Linked DNA regions of Homo sapiens: all the other regions are linked to region 3. Evidence: promoter capture Hi-C in human tissues and cell types (Jung and others, 2019). All regions are on one chromosome and are shown on one strand. Each heading gives the region's core, a stretch centred on a gene start or on the middle of the fragment in contact. The rest is flanking DNA. Distances are from core to core; before and after follow the strand shown.

What was found. Contacts are between HindIII fragments. The study calls those that stand out against the background at their distance.
Region 1: a fragment that was not itself captured here is called in contact with the fragment with the promoter of NTRK3 in region 3 in 1 of the 25 tissues and cell types used here (dorsolateral prefrontal cortex).
Region 2: a contact is called between a fragment that was not itself captured here and the fragment with the promoter of NTRK3 in region 3, in 1 of the 25 tissues and cell types used here (dorsolateral prefrontal cortex).

What each region holds. Positions count from the first base shown.
Region 1 is chr15:86,849,598-86,852,765 of GRCh38, forward strand. All of the region lies in intron 22 of AGBL1 (AGBL carboxypeptidase 1), which reads left to right. Among named protein-coding and RNA genes, the nearest start is that of AGBL1-AS1, 530 kb to the left of the region's middle. The HindIII fragment of the contact is 6,895 bases long and covers 1-3,168 here.
Region 2 is chr15:86,865,796-86,869,247 of GRCh38, forward strand. All of the region lies in intron 22 of AGBL1 (AGBL carboxypeptidase 1), which reads left to right. Among named protein-coding and RNA genes, the nearest start is that of AGBL1-AS1, 550 kb to the left of the region's middle. The HindIII fragment of the contact is 3,305 bases long and covers 1-3,272 here.
Region 3 is chr15:88,255,214-88,258,519 of GRCh38, forward strand. NTRK3 (neurotrophic receptor tyrosine kinase 3) reads right to left here and starts at 1,526. Exons shown (of 20, transcript NM_001012338.3): 1 at 1,431-1,526; 2 at 1,071-1,273; 3 at 693-955. The coding sequence starts at 940. The region is part of intron 1 of NTRK3-AS1 (NTRK3 antisense RNA 1); the gene reads left to right. RefSeq lists enhancers at 1-207, 208-744, 3,085-3,306. The HindIII fragment of the contact is 6,423 bases long and covers 1-3,306 here.

The sequences.
Region 1 (3,168 bases), core at 565-3,064, 1.4 Mb before region 3:
CAAATCCTGATGGACCTTATTATGGATAAAAGTGGAATTATATCTAGAATAGAGAGAGTAGCAGCTCTGGCCAGTTTCTTTCACAGGCTCCAGAAGTGACAGGCATGGCACAGATTATGCCAGGCTTAGTATCTGTGCTCCGCAGGGGCGATTCCCATTAGCTTCTGTGCCCAGATCCTCATCCTAGGCAGCGTGTGCTGGGTAGCATTCAGGACAGCAAGGTTCTCCTGCCTCAGCAACACTGTGCTTGCTTTAGAAACAGAGTGAGTAAGGCCTCTGTCGACATCACGCTTTAATTTTAATGAGAAGTCATAGAAGGAGCTGGTCTTTTTGGTCTTTTACAATTTGGAAAATAAGAAAAAAATTGTTAATCTTTCCATTCCTATGCTGTTCAGTCATTTTGGCCTAGGAACTTTAATGCTATTGCTTTGTAGTTTCCATTGCATAAAGGTAGTCACCTATGTGCTGGTGTGTTGCTCAATCTCCCTCAACCCAATCGCATTCAATGGAAATGATAAGAGAACTCTGTTCAGCTGTTTCCCATGTGTAAAACACCTATTTAGTGGAGCTGAAATGTACTGATAACTGGGCTCAAAAGGGACAGTCATTTTCAAGGCTTGATAAGTAGCAAGATGTCACATTCTTGCTGCCTTAGGCTATGGACATTACTTATTCATTTCTTCATCCATTATTTTATTAAAAAGTGTCTGTACATGGCATGGATTAAATGTTGGAGAAATTACCAATATGCATTGCTTTATTTGACTTCCCAGTCTTATCTCTGCTCCTGCCCCCTTCCTGTTTTTCACACATTTCCTATAGCACCGACTACATGCCATTTTATAAACAGATCTTTGCCAAAGAACCAAGTACCCAATCGTCCTCACACCATGGGTGCCCCACTGCGCCCACATTGCCTGTCTTTGTTTTGTTTGCTCCTGTTCCAGATAATTCTTTCTGCATCAAAACCCATCTTCCTCCCACCCTCATTTCCTCTGGGCTCTGCCAAACATTCTTATTAACACAGAGAATCATTATTGATAGGGTTACCTAAATTAACCTTGACCATTTCCTTTAACTATAAAATGGGAGTGATAAGAATACCTGTATGATATATTGTTGTATGGCTTAAATGAGATAATAGAAATGCTGAAAAAAATACTTGTCATATAGCAAGTATTTACTTACTATGCTGCATATCATGTAATCATTCCAAAAGCTAAAAAACAAAACAAAACAAAATGAAAAGATAGTTTCCTTCTGGTCAACATTGATAGTAATAGGTAATATTTATATTACTTAGATACTGTGTGAAGCATAATATTTTATTAATTATTGCCATGCCCATTTTATTGATAAAGAAACTGGAGTATAGGAAATCAATAATAATTTTCTGCCATCACTTCTATAATGCATTTGGAGAGGCTTTTTGGTCAATTATTGAAGGGACTGGATTTATAAGTTGCTTTAGACCTTCTGATTAAGGGTGAGTGATGTCACCAATCACAGCAATGGAAAGATCACTTGCTCTTATCCCTTCTAAGTGCTTTCCTGATAGCGTCACCCTCATCTACTATTTTGGGAAAGAGGGCAAGAAGTGGAAGAAAGGAGTGCTGCATATAAAGCCCTGGGAGAAAATTGAAAGCTGGACCTATGGGTTCTCTGATTCCTGAGACTATAAATCTCTAGGATTTGGGGCAGGAACTGATTCTAGCTCAAAACCAAGTCTACTAGAACTGGCTCACTCTGCCCACCTAACCCTGTAGGAGGGGGCTTTAAACAGTTTTGATGGGGGCAAACAGTGAGGACAGAAAGGTCCATCACCTGGTCAAGAACACAGCATCATTGCTCTTCCCTGGGCATTGAGAACAGGAGGTCTGTTTGAAATGGTAAGATATATATCAAACCCATTCAGTGGGCACAACTTTCTGTATCCCCAGAATTTCCTGAAAACATCTTTATTATAAGAGCAAGTTTTTCCAATAAAATCTGCAAAGATTAGTTCTATCTGACTCATGAAACCCGCAAATTCTTCCATCCTCAGAGTCTCTAGAGTGGTAACTAGCTTGATAAATAAAGAATCTGGGCCTAGGCATGGGCAGTAGCAGGAAAGAAAGGCAGGGCATTAACTTGAACCTGGATGGGGAAGGCATGGGGATGGTGAGCAGTGGGGTCCCTGAGAAGTGTGCACACATGAAGGATGCAGGAGATATTCTCCACGAGTTGCTGGAATGGCCAACAGAGATTTGAATTTCATATGGAAAGAGGGAGGTAGTGGGAAGTTCAGACTCATTGTGGTGAATGGTTTTCCTGCAGCAGTGGCAGGTTTTTATTTTTTATTTTTTATTGTTTAGTTGTAAAAAGACGACTGCATCTGTTTTGCTCACCATTGTCATGGCAGCTACTGCAGGGGAACTACTACATAAACACTGTTGGATGGATGAATGGATGGTCCATGTATTCATCCGTATTCACACTGCTATAAATATACTACCCGACACTGAGTAATTTATAAAGGAAAGAGGTTTAATTGGCTCACAGTTCCGCATGGCTGGAGAGGCCTCAGGAAACTTACAATCATGGTGGAAGGGGAAGCAGGCACCTTCTTCACAAGGGGCAGGAGAGAAAGAAGTGCAAGCAGAGAAGATGCCAGACACTTATAAAACCATCAGGTCCTGTGAGAACTCACTCACTATTGTGAGAACAGCATGGGGGAAACTGCTCCCACGATCCAAACACCTCCCTCTCTCCACACACTGAGAGTACATGTCCCTCCTTCGACACATGTGGATTACAATTGGAGATTATATTTGGGTGGGGACACAGAGCCAAACCATATCAGTCCATTTCCTGAGAGTCTCCTAAATCACTTTACGACATCCCCTGCTATCTGGAAACTCTATTCTGATCCACCTGCAAGCCCCCAGACACTATATAGATTATGTGACTTAACACTGAAGCTGATCTCCCAATGCCTCTTTTTGCAAGGTACATTATCTTCATTTAAAAATATCCTTCCTACATTCCTTGAGGGGTTCTAAATGCCCCAGGGCTTTTTTCACTGAGCAGGCCTATGGCTGGTTACCCCAGGTCAACATGTAATGGAGGGCTCAACAAGCCATCCTGTGAACCTCTTTCCTGGAAGCAGGGAAGAGGAATGAGGCAGGC
Region 2 (3,452 bases), core at 370-2,869, 1.4 Mb before region 3:
TCTGTGTTCAGATCCTAGCTCTCCCTCTTCCTTTCTCTGCAGCTTTGGGATGAGTAGCTTTAACTCCCTGTGCTTCAATCCTTCACAGGTTTATGAGAAGATTAAATGAGTTAATGCATATGAAGTGTTTAGTTCTAGGTCTGGCATATAACCAAGTGCTTGGTATCTTTTAGCTGTTATCATTATCATTTTCATTATCATTCTAACATCCAGATGACCTTGCCTCAGCCATCTTTCCCTTCCCCCCAAGTTGCACTGTAAGAAACATCTTTGTCATCTACTCTGCCATTCTTTTTGGCTCCCTTCTAAATTCTCAAACCACAATTTCCTTTCATCATAACTCTGAATATAAAAATAAGATCATTTTTCTTCTCATAACTGGATTATGACTCAAAATAAACATTCCATTGAAGGAATTAGAAAAGTCATCTTGACAAATGAAGGACAATGGGTATTTTAATAGTGACCATTATCATTGCCTATATACCATTTCCTCAGGTACTATTCTTGAATTGTTGGTTGGACTTCAGTTCCATTGATGGCCTGAGCCATATTTACTTCATGTCGCTATGGCATTGATCACACCCTCAAAGGAGGTATGCAAACTGTGATCTTGTTTCTGTGACAAAACCAGGTTGGGGGAATGATGGTTAATACAACAGTCATCTACTTCTTGCATAAGTCTTTCAGAAAACAATTATTGAGCACCTACTCTTTCCCAAAGGAGGCATTTTTCTAGATGCTGGCAAATCAACAATAAATAGAATACTACCTCTGGCCGGGTGTGGTGGCTCAAGCCTGTAATCCCAGCATTTTGGAGGGCTGAGGAAGGCAGATCACTTGAGGTCAGAAGTTCAAGACCAGCCTGGCCAACATGGTAAAACCCCGTCTCTACTAAAAACACAAAAATTAGCTAGGCATGGTGGTACATGCCTGTAGTCCCAGCTACTCAGGGCTGAGGCAGGAGAATTGCTTGAACCTGGGAGGCAGAGGTTGCAGTGAGCTGAGGACAGAGCAAGACTCCATCTCAAGCATTTGTTAAATAGAACTATGCTTAGTCCACTATTTGCCCATCTGACAGAGACTGTAGAAGTCAGAAAAGCTTCCCAGAGAAGAGAGTATCAGTAGAGCATTTGCAAGAATGGATTGAAGTTAGGCAAGATGCAGAACAGAGGTCCCATTTGATTAACTAATGTCTGCAAGGGCATGAGTTGAGATGGTGAGACACTCCTAGGAGACATCTATCATATCAGTGTGGCTGTGGCATGGAGTTTGGGAGTGGAGTGAGTAATGAGGAAGAAGAGGGGTCATGTCATAAACACACTTGCATCTCATGCTGTCAGGACTTAAGCTTTATCCTTTTCTTGGGGGTGGGGGAATTGTATTTCACAATCATAAATGGTAGGTACAATTATAGAACTCATTGAAGGTTTACTCAGCCCTCATTTTTTTTCTTTACCCACGTTGGTCACAGCATAACACTTCCCTCAAAACCACACTTGATGTGCTGGTACTTCAATTTTCCTTTTGCCAAGAGTTGACATTATGCTAACTTTACATTTTACAAATCAACTCACCTACTAGGTAGGAGAGAATAACTTTCTGCGTTTTGTGGTACATGTTTCCACTTACTGCTTGCCCCGAGGATGAGGGATTCTGTATGTGGCAGGAGTGAAAACAACAGTTTTTTTAAAAAATTAAGCATTAAATTACACTGGACGTGTTTAATTTTGTTTTCAGTAATGGGCTTTGATGCTTTGGTGAAGACTCATTGTGTTATACTTGAAATAGAAACATGTCATGTGAGTGAACCTGTGAGGCGGGGAGAACAATAAAATGGCAAAATGCACCCGGACTAGGTGGGGCTTATAGTGCTAGATATTTTAGGCTCAATTTTATTGTTCATGGCACTGTGCAAAAATAAATAGACATTTAAAAGAAGTAGGATATATGTTGGTATGAAAGCAGAGGGAAATCAATTAGCAGCTGTAACTTAAAGCTGAGGAAATGGATAGGATTGACTTTAAAGATCTGAGGTACTAATTTGTCTCCTTAAATGCAAATTTCTAAGTTTATCCATGGCCGTCCAATATACAGATATCCCAATGAACCCAGATTATTTTATAATAGGGAATAAAGGAAATAGCAATCGTTACAGAGAGGTGAGCCCTTATTTTGGTGTTTCATAAATGCCTGAATCCAGATCATATATTGGGGCCATGATCCAAGAGATGTCAGATTGTGTATATTTTACAGTTTTTCAAAATAAGGAATTATCAATGTGGCTAATCCGGTCTGTGAGAGGTCAGGATGTAACATCAGATGAAGTTGAACATCGGTCATCAGGTAGAGTTGAAGACACATGAAACGTACATGAAAAAAAACATGAAAAAATAGGCAAGAAGCAAAGGAACAGCCATGGACGTAGAGTGAAGATGATTTGGTTTAATGGGTCACAAGAAAAGCTTCAAACCCTGTGAGGTCGCCAGAGGACTATTCATATGTGGCACTAACTGTATAGCACAAAGCTTGCATATAGCTAACCAAGCCACACAAGACTGTAACCTCTTGGGTCTTTCTAGATGAGAAGTCTTGTTTATATAGCAATTAGAAAATCCTTTATGACTTTTAGCACCAAGCTAAGGGAATTCTTTCAGGTTTAGTGACTAGAAATCATGGAAGAAATGTCCACTTCCCCACAAGGGTGTTGCACAAGGGACACATTCAACTATCACATAATTCTAAGTACTTTCGAATCTAGTGGTTTAAAACTAGAAATTAATGCTTTAAAAACATAGGCGTGTAAAGCATTCGTGAAGAGGATGTTGTAACGAAATATGACTATCTAGAACGACATTAAACTGATTTCCACTCACCCTGGGAATTCATTAAAGAGAAAATCTTCATTCTGTGACTTCGCACTGTCTGGTTTATATCTGGGCTTATGTCCAACAAAACTACTAAAAAGTAAGGCCTGTGAACCACTAGTAGATATTGGTGGGGTGACAGAAATTAATGGAATTGTGACATGCAACATGTTGAAAAAATAAAAAGCAATCTCAAAATTGGAAAAAAATAGAATAGAAACAACGGGTATGAATTAAACTGCCTGTGCTTTTAGTAGAAGATAATGAAAGAAAGTGGCACGTCCACCTTGGCTTACAGCTAGGACATTCCCAATTCAAGGCCTTTAAATCAACAGCTTCAAGGACCAAGCAAAGGCATCATTTTGAAAGAATTTTTAGGGCATTTATATACTAGCTGTCAACTGCCTTGGTGGCAGGGTGATAAATGCTTCTGAATTTGAGTTAAGCAGACTAAACTCTATGAAACTGTGCTTGCACAACTGATAAACTGTCTAATGGTCAATTCTCCAAAATTCCCACTGGGTAAGACAGAGAGGTGTGTCAGGGGAAAAGCTAGCATGGAGGTGGGAGATAGAGACACAAGTA
Region 3 (3,306 bases), core at 276-2,775:
AGGCGCCCAGATGCAGATGAGGGTGGCAAAGGGGTGTCTCGGAAATGCCCAAAATGGGGCTGGAGAGGGCGGGCTGCAGGAGGGGAAGGGAAGAGGTAGGCGTCCATGACGGCCTCCACACGTCCAAAGTCTCCCCGCGAGCAGCCAGCTCGCAACTTGTTTACTTGTCAGCATGTTTTGCTGTTTCCAAATGGAAATAGTTAAACACCTCGGCTGGATCGCGAGCAGTCCCTATCTGTCACCTTCCCTGCCGGCTAAGCGCTGCCGCCGCTGCCACCGCCGCTGCCGCCTCTGCCAAAGAATCGAACCTCGTCTACTTTATTCCACTTGAGCGTGGCCAAACTGTTGCTATTTAGTGGGGAGCAAAAAAAAACAATTTGCACCATCGAAACGAGCCAGCAACTGGTTGGGAGGCGGGCGGTAGCTGGGCCCCGCGTGCCCTCGGCGGCCGGGGTCCTCTCCGGGGAGAGGCACACACACGCATAGCCGGATCGCGCCTCGCCAGGGCCGGAGTCACCTGGAATGCGCAGCCGGAGAGCATCTCCCGAGCCAGAGCGAGCCTGACGCGCGCCCAGCGGGCGGCGGGCAGCGGCGAGCTGGGGCGGGCGGAGGGCCGGCTCCCGGCCGCGGGTGGGCAGGAGGGAGACGCAGAGCGCGGGGGAGGCAGGCTGGGGAGCGGCCGCCTGACTTACATGGAAGTGATATTCCTTGAGATGTCCGTGATGTTGATACTGGCGTTCCCATTGCTGTTCCCTGAATCCTGCCCTTCCAGGAGGGGGAAGAGGTTCCCATCGTCCGGCCGCCGGCAATTGATCTCAGTCTTGCTGCAGACACAATTTGCAGGGCAAGCCAGCACGGAGCCCACATAGTCCAGCCAGACGCTTCCCAGCAAGAAAATCCGCCAGAAACTACACTTGGCTGGGCAAAGAGAGACATCCATCTCCGATCGCTGCTTCTAAAAAAGAGGAGGAGGAGAGGAGAGGGGGGTGGGGTGGGGGGAGTGGGGAGAGCAGGGGGGGAAGGAAACAAAGACGGCGAGGGAGGGGGGAAGGGGGAGGGGGGGCCTCTGCCTTTGAAACGCCGAGCGATCAGATGCAAAATCCTTCAGCGTCTGAAACCATCGCGGACGCCGCCGCCGCCGCCGCCGCCGCCGGGTGGGAGCCGCGAGGAGCGCCTAGTGGCGCGGTCTGCCGGGCATGGTGGCCGGCTCGGCGATCGCTGACTCGCCGGGTCCGGGGGCTCTGGAAGCGAGGCGCGCTCTCCGACTCCGAGACTTTGCAGGGTTGCAACAGACGGTGGGGAGGCAAAAAAAAAAAAGGAAAAGGAAAAAATGGTGCTAAAGTCACCAAGTCCCACCTACTGGGCAGAATTAAAACGGACACACCACGCACCTGCAAAACACACACACTCACTCTCACACATACACACACCCGGAGCCCGAGGAAAGGAAGAGAAGGAAGATGCAGTAGGAGCTGCAGCAGCCGCCGCGAATGGCTCGCCGCGCGGCTGCAGAAATGTACAAGTGCTCCGAGCCTTACGAAACGCACGGGTTATCGGAGCGTCTTCCTCGGCTCCCTCCCTCCCTTCCTCCCTCCCTCCTCCCCTCCCTCGTCGCGGCCTCCTCCCCCCGCCCCCCGCCCGGGCTGGGAGCGGCAGGAGAGCGGAATCTCCCCCTCCCTCCCCTCCCCACACCCGTCTCTCTCCCCGCCTGTCCTCTCCCTCCTCCCCACCCACCCACCCACCCACTCGCCGGCTCGCGGCTGTAGCCGGCACCGCCACCCGCAGCCTCGCGGCAGCCCGCCCGCTCCACGCCTCGCAGCGCGGCGCCCGCTAGCCGCAGCCCGGGGGAAACCGAGACCGAAGGGAAAAAGTTGCATTTGAGATTGCGAGGGTCGGGGCTGGGGAGGGAGAGTTGGCGAGCTGGCTGCACGACACGGAAAGGCGCTCTCCTTTCCACTTTTTGGCCCTCGCGCTACCCGGTTTTGCTGCAATCCGGACCGCGGTAGGAAGTGAAATGAACGTGGCGGAGGTGATTGGGGAGTGCTCCCAAGCCTTGGGTGGGGGGCGCTCCCAAGCCTGGGTGGGTGGGGGGCGCAGGCTCACGGACGGCGACGGGGGGTGCCGGAGCGCACAGACACCCCAGAGAAGCACCCAGAGCCGGGGACCGGGACCGCAGACGCGCAGTCCTTGGTCTGAATGACACTCATTTCCGTAATCTAGAGTCTGGGGCTCTGGTCTTGGCTGGGAGGGGACTGCGGGACATGGCACGCTAGGTGCCCCCCGTGCCCGCTGCGCTTTCTTGGAGGTGGGTTTTGCATTCGGCCTTGAGCAGGCATGGATCGGGGAAGGAAGAAACAGGGGTCGAAAGGGCTGCGCTGGAGAGCCGAGGTGGCCCCGGGCGAGCTGTGCGTGCAAGAGAAATGGCCGGGGGAAATTGAGATGCAAGGGGCATATTTTGGCAAGCGCCACGCCAGCACCGTCAGAGGCCGGCTTCTCGGGCTCAGCTCTCGGGTGAGCTGAGCTGGCTGCCGGGTGAGGGGGCGGGCGGGCTGCTTTCTCCGGATTCGGGGGCGCAGAACCTCCTCCTTCCCTCCCACACAAGCACCCCTTCCTGGTAGGGACGCAAAGCAGGTGCAGCTTTCGACGAGAGCTCAGATCTCATCCGGGAAAGAAGTGTGTGTGGGGGGGGCCCCGCTTTTGCGCTGGTAGGGATTTTTTTCTTAATAAAACATAAAGATGCCAAGTGTGAGCTGTTTGCTGAAAAAAAAAAAAACGAGCATTCGCTGTGGGAAAGGAGAAGAAAGGGTTAGGGGAGTCCGAGCAGGCAGACACACTACAGCATTCACACGCAGAAGAAAGCAGGGTTCTCCTTCCCGAGCTTGGAGGAGGGCAGGCGAGGAAGCAAAATACATTGAATTCAATTCAACTGCATCCAGTATCTGAAAGGAGTCTCCCCCGCCCCCCTGTGGATTCCGATGCAGGTCATGCAACTTGCAGGCAAGATGGGGGAAGGGGTATGCCGGTGTCACCGCCTGCCCCAGGCGCAACCACAAACAGGCCGGTCGCCTTCGGGTGGCACTGTCGCTTGGAGTAAAAACTTGGACGAAAAAAATGGAAGAAAAGAACATGCCTATACAAGGCAGTTTTCCCGACTTCCCGTCACGTTCCACCTTCCCTTGGCCCCAGGGAGATTTTTACCCCCGTCGCCATTATGGCCTTGTCTCCAGACTGGCATTTTGCCCTCCCACCAGCAGGCGGGGACAGAGTGTGAAGACCTCCTTGGACTCTCAAACCACTTGCTACTGG